Linked DNA regions of Homo sapiens: region 2 is linked to region 1. The links are contacts of gene promoters, found by promoter capture Hi-C in human tissues and cell types (Jung and others, 2019). All regions are on one chromosome and are shown on one strand. The core of a region is centred on a gene start or on the middle of the fragment in contact, and the rest is flanking DNA. Distances in the headings are between cores, read along the strand shown.

What was found. Contacts are between HindIII fragments. The study calls those that stand out against the background at their distance.
Region 2: the fragment with the promoter of DBN1 here is called in contact with the fragment with the promoter of NSD1 in region 1 in 3 of the 25 tissues and cell types used here (dorsolateral prefrontal cortex, heart left ventricle and lymphoblastoid cells).

What each region holds. Positions count from the first base shown.
Region 1 is chr5:177,131,377-177,136,127 of GRCh38, reverse strand. It overlaps NSD1 (nuclear receptor binding SET domain protein 1), which reads right to left and starts at 2,355. Exons shown (of 23, transcript NM_022455.5): 1 at 2,176-2,355; 2 at 98-1,041. The coding sequence starts at 1,024. RefSeq lists enhancers at 1,153-1,706, 1,707-2,258, 2,259-2,812, 3,026-3,320, 2,813-3,364 and 1 more and silencers at 1,720-2,019, 2,080-2,239, 2,320-2,989. The HindIII fragment of the contact is 15,853 bases long and covers 1-4,751 here.
Region 2 is chr5:177,471,074-177,475,824 of GRCh38, reverse strand. It overlaps DBN1 (drebrin 1), which reads left to right and starts at 2,191. Exons shown (of 15, transcript NM_001363541.2): 1 at 2,191-2,389. The coding sequence starts at 2,304. RefSeq lists silencers at 1,954-2,003, 2,014-2,393, 2,474-2,673, 2,704-3,073, 2,993-3,179 and enhancers at 2,328-2,829, 2,830-3,333. The HindIII fragment of the contact is 16,715 bases long and covers 1-4,751 here.

The sequences.
Region 1 (4,751 bases), core at 1,106-3,605:
ATAAGCAACCAAAAACAAATTTGTTACAAGTTTCCCTTTAAGTGGCCTGTATATATACATATATGTATATATTTAAGTTGTACCAAAAACTGCTTACAAATGGCAATTCCTGTGAAGTAGATGATGATGAAGTTCCAGGTAATTCTAGCATGTTTCCTAATGTACTGGTACTGGAATCTGGATCATCCTGAAAAGATAAATTTATTGAGTTTAATTGCTCTTCTATTGTAATGTTTGTGTCTCCTAGTGAAAAGGGGGCTGGGAGAAGGGCTGCTTTTTCATTGCTGCCGTCCACTTCATTTCTTTGCTTATTTTTCTGTGTTTCAGTCTGAGGAGCTAATGGCAAGAATGGCGATTTGACTGCACCGTGTCTACTCTCTGGTGTGCTGTCTTGTTCACTTCCCATGGCCACTTTTACACCATTCTCTGATTTAGTCTCATAATTGCAGGTGGCATTGGTCTGAGTTTCCTCAAAGATCTCCTCTATACTCTCATCCTCTGTGACTGGCTGTTCTGGGTCCATTTCAGAATCTACATCTGCATCGTCCACACAAGTAAAATTCTCAAAGTGCAGAAAGCCATTCTTGATAGTCTTTGTTACTTTTACCTGGAGTTCAGGGGAGTTATTACAAGAGGGTTCCTGTTTCATAGCAAGTGCTGTAGGACCACCAGGACTCAAGGAAGTGCAAACAATTGGCGTCTGAGCTCTTGAATCACTTTTTTCAGGGTCTTGAAAGGATTCTGATCCATCAGCAGACCCATTTAAATACTCTACATTGATCATGGAGGCCAAATCCTGTAGTCTCCGCAGTGGAATGTAACAAGATGGAGAATCTTGTCCATAAGCATTTTGGGATGTTCCACTGACAGTCGATAACTGCATAGTACACCCATTAAGTGGCTCAGAAAAATTGGATTGACCATTACCGAAAGGGCTGTCCTTGTCTTCAGGGGCATCTAAATTCACTGGATTGGAAAAGGGCAGCAGACAATTTCTTCTGGGTAGTTCACAGGTCTGATCCATCCTGGGCCGGCATCAACCTGGAATCCAAAAGCACAGCAATTAATCTGAGTTAATAGGCCATCTGACTCGACTCTTTAAAATGGCAGCCACTTCAAGGCCTAGTGGCCTCTATGCCTTTCTGCTGCACTTCCATGGGCAGAAAAAGTTCCCCCGACTGGAGATGAAAAAATGGCCTCGATGAGCCTCTGAAAACTCCATTTTCCCGAAGCTGGGCCGATCCTGCTACATAGAAACAGCCCGTCTCTTTTTCCTCCTCTGTAGACTGGTGGACACTTGGGATGAACTAAAATTAAAACCCCTCTGCCCGTCAAAATTCCCAATTCTCAAACAGGACTAGTCCTCCCCCTCCCTCGCCAGGGGTCGAGCAGCTGGATCTCTCAAAAGCAAAAGGCTGCGGGGTCCGAGGGGGGCTCCTGGACCCTGCACAAAAAGGTACCCCCCCCTTCCTGGCTCGCTAGGGCGCAGCGGTCACAATAGCGCTGCACCCTGCGCCCAGCCAGCGCCGGAGCCTTTGCAGCGGCGGTGCGCAGGCCGCAGGCGAGCCGGCCGAGGCGGCTGCACCCCAGAGCTCGCCTTCCTGAATGCAGGCCTGCTGGATCCGCAGCTGCAGGGCGAAGAGGCCTGGACCCGGCAGAGGGAGAAACCGAGGCGGCCAGCGAAGCCCAGTCAGGGTAGCAGCAGCTGCTACAGCTCGAAAAACATGGCTGCTGCCGACGCCGCCGCCGCCTGCCCGGGCCGCGCTCCTTCCCGCAGCCGCGGCAGCACCTCCCAGCCGAGCCGATCGCTCTCATCAATATTCAGCAGCAAGCAAAGTTTGCTGCGGGAGGGCAGCCGGCCCCGCGCCCCGCAGCCTGCTACCTGAGGGGAGGCGGAGGCCGAGGTGTTCGCAGGCGGCCGGCGGGGCACGGGCCGCGCCGGGAGGAAGTTCGCGGCAGCCCGGCCAGCTAGGCCTGAGCCCGGCTGGTAGTGATGGAGGAGGGGGAGGGGGAGGAGGCCGGCGGCTGCAGCGCCGCCGGCCACCAACCCCGCATCGCGCCTGGCCCTCCCCCGAGCCCCTCACCTTACGGCCACCACCATCTTCCCCGCCCGGCCACCCTCCTCCCTCCCTTCTCCTCGCGCCTGCCCGCCGCCCACCCCAGCGCACTAGTTACCGTGCCCCGCGCCCCCTCCCGGGCCAGCTGGGGGGAGGGGGTGACCCTCATTACACTGGGGTGCGAGCGGAGCGGTGGGGAGAGAGCGGGGCCGCTCGCCGCACCCCCCTCCCCCCGCGTCTCTCTTCAGGGGAGAAGGCAGCGAGCGCGACCTGCCCCGGCCTATTCCGCCGCCGCCTCCTCCTCCTCACACCCCCACCGCGCGCGCCCCCGCGGCCGCGCGTGCGACCGAGCGCCTCGCGCCGGCCCGCGTGCGGCTGGGCCCCGAGTGCGCGCGCACCCCTTCCCCCACCGAGCGCGCGCGTTCCCTTCTCTCACTCTTCGGGGTTCAGGGCGGGTGAAGTCGGGCTTGTGAGAGCGCCGCCCAATCAGCGGAGCTGCCGCTGCCGCCCCCTCCCCTCCCCCTGCGCGCCCGCTCGCGGCCGGGGCCTACGGGCCGGCCCGGCTGCCCGGGCGGGGCCTGAGGCGGGCTCCCCAGGGGCCTCGCGCGCCTCCTTGGAGTGTCGGGGCCTGCGGGCGTCGTGGGTGGCATTCCGATCCCCTCACCTACCTCGGGGCACGGCGCTGGCCTCGGGCCGCACACGGCTCCCGCACCCTACGCGTCTCGAACCCCAACCCAGGCGGCACCTGGCGCGGCTGAGGCCTGTCCGATCGTCCCGCCAGCCCTGCTCGGGCCCGCGTCAGTCCCGGCCTCCATCTTAGGTTACAGCCCAGGCTCCCCATCCACTGGGCACCTGCCCTCAGCCCGCTGGGTTCGGCCCGAGGCCAAGGCAACCCCCCTCCTGCCGCAGGGCTCACCTGGGGGCTTGGGCTGGGGTCTTCGAGGCCTCAGGCCCCGAGCAGACGCGGCCGCAGGCGAACCCCCTACCCGGCCGCACCCCAAACCCACACCACCACCACCACCACCACCACAGACCAAGCTGAGCAGGAAACAAAATGGAGGCAGCAGCTCGGGTCTGCCTCCCTGAGCCAAGCCTGTGCAGCCCCAGGGCTCCCTCCTGTCTCAGGCTCGACGCCCGCGAGGCAGAGGCTGGATCGTCCCGGGTGCCGCGGGCAGCCGCCCTACAGCAGCGCAGACGGGCCGGGGACTCGGCCCTGCGGTGCCCACAGCCCCTCACCCACCACCCCTTCCCTTCCCCCTCCCCCCATCCCTCTCCCTCCCCTTGCCGGGCCGTGCGGGGTGAGCGGCTCTGGGGAGCCGGGTCGGGTTACCCGCCCCGGCACTGCTCGCCCGGCCGTGGCCTCCGCGGGGGAACGAAGCCAGGCGACCCCAGCGCTGAGCCCACCCCCGGCACCGAGCCGGGCTGCAGCCTGACAGCGCGTCCGCACCTCGGCCTGCAGCCGTGCGGCCCCCGCCCAGGGAGGCCGAGTCCCCAGCCCGGGCCCAGCCGGGACGAAGCTCCCTCACCACCCCCGAGCCCAGGGGTCCTCGCAGCCTCGGGCGGGGCGAGGGGAACGCCGGGGGAGGGGGTCCTCTAGTCCCTGCACCGCCTCCCGCGCCTAGTCAAGGTCTGGGCCTGGCACGGGGGCTCGGGCAGCGGGCGCCGGCCGGCGTGGGTATGTGCGTGCGCGCCGGGCTGGGGGCCGGGACGGGACGGGCCGCGCCTCGCACCGCGGACGCTGCAGTTCTCGGCACCCAGGCAGATGGCCCTCTCGTGCCACCGCCGCCCAGAGCGGGCCGCCTGCTCCGCAGCCCGGTTCCCCGGGGAGTGCGCGCCTCGCCCCTGAGGGCCGGGCATCTGGACCCCAGCGGAGCTGCGCCGGGACACGGGACCGCCCGGCTGGCCGGGACAAGCCCGCTGGCGCAGCCCTCGGCCTGGGGCCTCACGGCCTGCATCCTGCACCGGGCCCGCAGCACCGAATCTAGCACGACCGCGTGGCGTCCAATCCCCCAAGACAGCGGAAGGGCGGGACAGGGAGCCCAAGCTGGGCCTGAACTTGCGACTCCAGCCCCTCGGGCCCTTCCCCCAGCCCGGACTCCGTCGCCCCCTGGGCTTGATCCCCACCAAGAAGCTCACCTCAGGAGTTACCTGGTCCCTAGGGCGCTAAGCGCCTTCTCGCTGTTCAGAGAAAGCCGGATCCGGCCGCCATAAAAATTCCGCCTCCTCCAGAAAGCCTTCTGTGATTAGATTTGGAGTTAACTCCATCTCAAGCTGAGGGCACCGCCCTCGAGGGCCACGTGACTACTATTCTTCCCATGGCTTAGTAAATGTGCATAGTTATTGCCCCAGTGGACTGTTTACTCACTGCCTTCTGTTAACTTTGAGCCCACCTGGGAGAAAGGCCATTTTTGGCGTTGCCCTGTGTGACATTAGTGCTGGCCAGCTAAACTCCATCCTTCCCCTGCCTTCAGCCAGCGACTGGCCCAGCAGGCGTGGAGCTCGAGATGCTCTTACCCTTTTGCTCTCCAAGGCCCACAGTCCAGTGATGGAGGCTCCCAAGTCAACAGGCCCTTAGCACATGTCTGCAAGTGCCGGATGCAGACCCTGCCAAGACAGCAAGTGGGCTTTGTTAGAGGGAAAGTGCCCACTGGAACGGGACTGATGAGAGGGCTGTGACCTCAGGGAGGCTCCTTC
Region 2 (4,751 bases), core at 942-3,441, 340 kb before region 1:
AGCTGAAAGGAGGCAGGTTCTCAGAGGACAGTGACCAGTGGCCACCCACTCCCACCAGTCAGGGCAACTGAGAACTATGGGTCCACTGAGTTTGGCAAGTTAGGGGTTACTGGTGACCTTGGCCAGAGCAGTGCCAGAGAAAATGCGGGGAGGAGGAGACAGAGGACAGATGTCTGTCTGCATCCTATAGAAATGAGGGGATGAAGATAACCTGGAAGGGTGACGGGTGCGGAGACCAGGGGAGTGGGCTCTAGGGCATGCCAGCAGGGAACACCCTTGCTTCCCTGAAAATAGGGAAAACTGAGTGCAGGGTGTATGGGAACTCTCTATACTATCTTTGTAACTTTTCTGTAAATCTAACACTGTTCTAAAATAGAAAGTTTATTTAAAAATGTTGATGGCAAGAGGTGAGAGTGGGCGTGGCTGGAGAGTTTGTAGGTGGCTGGTGGGGAGGCAGGAATTTGAGGAAGGAAGAGCTTAGATGCATTTAGGGCTTCTGTTTTTTGGATGCAAAATTGAGTGTGCAGGAGGCTGGGGGGTGAGGGGAGCGGGGGGGGCGAGGAGCTGTGAGCTAGGACAAATCAAAGGAAGCTGGAAGAGGCTGAGGCCACAGATGCTCATGGCCAGCCATCTGCTGCCCCTCCCCGGCTGCAGGGTCTCCCTCCTCACCAGAATCAGGCTCTTCATGCCTAAGGGTGGGGGATGGCTGAAGCTCTGTCCCTCCATGGCTCTCCCCACTTCCCTTCCCCACCATGTGTCACCCACTCCCTTAGGGATCCCCATGGCAGGCCAACCACACCTACTGGCCAGTTGGTCTAGGGCACAGGGCCTGGCTGTGTCCCTGCCTGGGTGCCTCACTCTAGTGGTGGCCATGGAGAAATTGCCATGGCCTGTGGTCCCTAGACATAGTGGGCACTGACTTCCCAAGGCAGGGGCCTGTGAGTATTTTGAGTTTTAAGAGGGTTCTCCCAACTCCAAAGCGCCAGGAACACTGCCACATAGGCAGCCCTGCTCTCCTTCTCTTGGCATAGCCAATTACCCAACGCAGAACTCGGAGGCCTGGCTAGAACCACCTCCTCCTCCGCGGTGCGGTTGGGACCAGGTGAAGTTTGCTCAGGGAGGTCGAGGTTGGAGGCTTTGTAGTGGTGGAAAAGGCTTCTAAGCGCTGTGGACGGTTTCAGGGTCCCAACCTAGCAAGGAACGGAGTTCTGGAAGGCCCTGGCATGGTGTCCACTCCCTTGCAGGGGGTACTTTTCTGAGGCCCCCTCCCGTTCTGTGCTTAGAGCTTTAGGAGATAAAGGTGCCAAGAGGCTGGCCCTGAGCGTCCTTGGAGGAGCCCTGCCGTGGGAGTCTGGGGTTAGATGCTGCTTCCGGAACTCTACTTGGGACTCCTCTGGGAGGCGTGAGGCTTGAGAGAGAATGCAAAGGATCTCCTAGCTGGCCCCATCTGAGAGGGCACAGGCGTGGAGGGGAGGAGAGGCCTGGAATGGAGGGATAATGAGCTGGGTAGGGGCTGAGAATGGCCTGGAATAAGTGGTCATGGAGCCGAGATGGGGGGCTGTGGTTGGGAATTGGGAACTGGGATCAGGATGAGACTGGGATGGGTTGGACTGAAGATGTGCCGTGACACATGTTGGGGGGGACACGTGCTAAGCATGGGGCTGAAGCTGGGATGGGAAAGCAACTGGGGTGGATTTGAGGGTGGGATGCAGATGACAGTGGATATGATGGGATAGACTAGGCAAGGACCTCTCAGGGAAAGGAGACGGGCCAGGGGTGGGGTGTTGTGTGAGCTGGGTTGGGATGAAAATGGGTTTAACATGAGGTGGGACGCACCAGGAATGGAGATCAATGAAGCAATGGGTGGGGCGGAACCGGATTGGGACGGGGGGTGGGCGGGGGGAGGTGGGGACGGGACTGGGTTCGGGGCTGGAAGGAGGGCTAGCGCCGAGGTTACGGACGGGGCAGGTGAGGGTTCGGGACGTGGGTGGGGCTGGCCCTGGAGCGGCGCGCAGGGGCGGTGGGTGAGGGGCGCCCGGGGCAGGCCGGGAAGGGGGGGCGGGCCTCCCCCTGGGCCGGGCCGGGGCGGCGCTAGGACCGAGCGAGCGGAGGGAGCGAGCCGGGCGGAGCCAGCGCCCCCCGCCCCCCGCCGGCCGGCTCCCCTCCCCCGGCCGCTGGCTCGCTCGGCTCGCGACGCTGCAGAGGCTCCGAGGCGGCGGCGGCGACTCCCTCTTTCCCTCCCTCCTCCTCCGTCCGCCCGTCCGTCCGCGCGTCTGTCCGTTCGGCCCGGTCCGGCCCGAAGCATGGCCGGCGTCAGCTTCAGCGGCCACCGCCTGGAGCTGCTGGCGGCTTACGAGGAGGTGATCCGAGAGGAGAGCGCGGCCGACTGGTGAGCCCCCCGCCCCCGCCCCCGGCCCCTTTGTCCCCGCGCCGCCGCCGCGCCTTTGTTTCTCTCCCGCCCCGCCGCCCCGCCGCCGGGAAGGGAGGGGGACCCCGAAATGGTGCAGCGGGCCGGGAGGGCCGGGAGGGGCTGCCTTTGTGCGCGCCGGGGGAGGGGCCGGCGGGCCAGGCGGGGCACTGCCGGGCCCCGAGCGCCCGGAGGCGGCCCAAGGCGCGCGGTGGGAGCGGCGGCCGGACGCGGCCCGGAGGCGCGGGGTCCCGATGTGGGGCCCGGGGCCGCGTGGCCCTGCGGGAGCCCATCCCCCACCCTACCCCCCGGGCCCGGGGGACAGGTGTGCACGGGGCGGCCAAGGGCACCTTCGCCACCTTCGAGCGGGCGAGGTCCGGGCGGGGACGGGGCGGGGACCGAGCTAGCGGAGCCAGCGCAGCCTGCCCGGCTCAGCCCGGCCCGGCCACAGCACAAAGGAAAGCGAGGGCGGGGGAGGAGCGGAGCGGGCTGGGGGCCGGGCGCCCCGCCCACCGGGGGGCCTCTCGGAGTGGGCCGCCCTCCCCCCGAAACCTGGGCTGGAGTGAGGTGGAAGGATGTTTGCTGCCACATGGCGACCGCGAAGTGACTCCCTTACCGCCGCGGGTCGCGGAGGAGGCAGGGGTGAGCTCTCCTCCCCTACCTGAAGGGGACTGCGGGGACTAGGCAGCTGGGCTGGGGGGCACCGAGCTGCCTAAGGGGCCAGCTGAGATCCCTGGGAGGAAGCCCTCTGGAGAACAAGTGTGGAGGGAGCCCCCAAAGACGGCTGAAGGGGTGAACAGATCCACCGGCCCCCAGCAAGGGGCACTCGGTCCCTGATGGGGGAGGAGCTGGGCCGCCCCTCACCCCGCCCCCCAGCTGTTGTCTCCCGCTGAGCTGGGGGAGGGGATGGACCACCTGCTCTGGGGCTGGCGGCCCAGGGTGGTGGAAAAAGGAAACCGAGGGGTTCCTCACAGCCCCATCCTGGAATCCTTTAACCCCCCCGTAATACTCTTCTTCTAGGGAAGGTGCCCATCTGGTTCCTAGGCCTCCTCTCCCTGCTGGCAGATGGGAACAGGTTCTTCTTGAGGAAACTGAGGCAAAGAGGAGGGCAGGTCTGAGGGACCCCGCTTGGGCTGGCCTCACCCGCACACTGGGAGGGCAGCCAGGTGGGGACTCTGACCTGGGGGCTTCTGGAGGAGAGGATGAGATGGCTGGGCATCCATGGCATGGTACTGCAGCACTGGCCAGCAGCCAGGCCTGGAGGGATGGACGCGAGAGACAAGCTCTCGTGTCCTGCAGGTCAGTCACAGGAGAGGCCGGCACAGGCTCAGCAGGCAGGCGGCCCACCCATTGTCCCAGCCCTGCCCCAGGGGGGCTGAGATCATGGGAGGAGCTCTGGGCAAGTGGCCGGCTTGGCCTGGTGAAGGAGCTGGCTTTGGGATAAGGCCCCGCCTGGGGAGAAGCACAGCTCACCCCAGAACACCTCCTTTGCCCTCCAGCCTGGAGGGGTGTTGTCTACCAACACCCCATTTTCTCCTAAAAGCAGAGCTCTGGTGGCCTATTGCCAAGGCCACACAACCCCTGTTGCCCCACATCCTGCTCAACACAGGCCTGCCCCCACCCACCCCAGCAGCATCCGTGTGGCCAAAGCGAGTTATTCATCACTGGTGTGCGTCAGCCCCCATCTGGGTTGTGTGTGGGACACACACAGATGCACACATGTACCCTCGCACATGCACACATTCGTTCACTAAGGGCCCAGATAACATTTTGAAAAAGGGGTGTGAGGATCACTTTCTACACAAGAGAATATGAATACCCCAGGGCCCAGCATGGAACCAGGGGTGCAGTGAGGTCTGAAGACTCAGAGGCAGACCCTGCACATAGGTCCAGAGGGAGGGGTGTCTTGGGTAAATTGCTGTCTGCCCCCCGACCCTTACCTTGCCTCCAATGGGGAGGGGTGGTTGGGGGAGTTCACTCCTAGGTGGCAGGGCCTCTGAAGTGCACCACTACTCTGGCACAGGGAGCAGGGGACCCAGGAAATGAGGTTGTGTGGTGGGAAGGGCCACTGTTGTCCTGGTTGTGATATGACTCACTGTGATCATACACAAGTTCCTGGTCCTCTTGGAAAGAAAAGGGATTGGGCCCAGCACTACCTCGGATACTGAAGGCCTTTCTAGCACCACCATCCTGAGAGTGATGGTCCTGCGGGGTCCACCTGCCCTCAGCCCCCGACTCCAGCTCACCCTCCACCCCAGCTCACCCCCCATCCCAGCTCACCCCAGGGTCTCTGGAACTGCCACATTCCAGCTCCCACCTCACGCTAGTTCAGTTTATCTGGCTA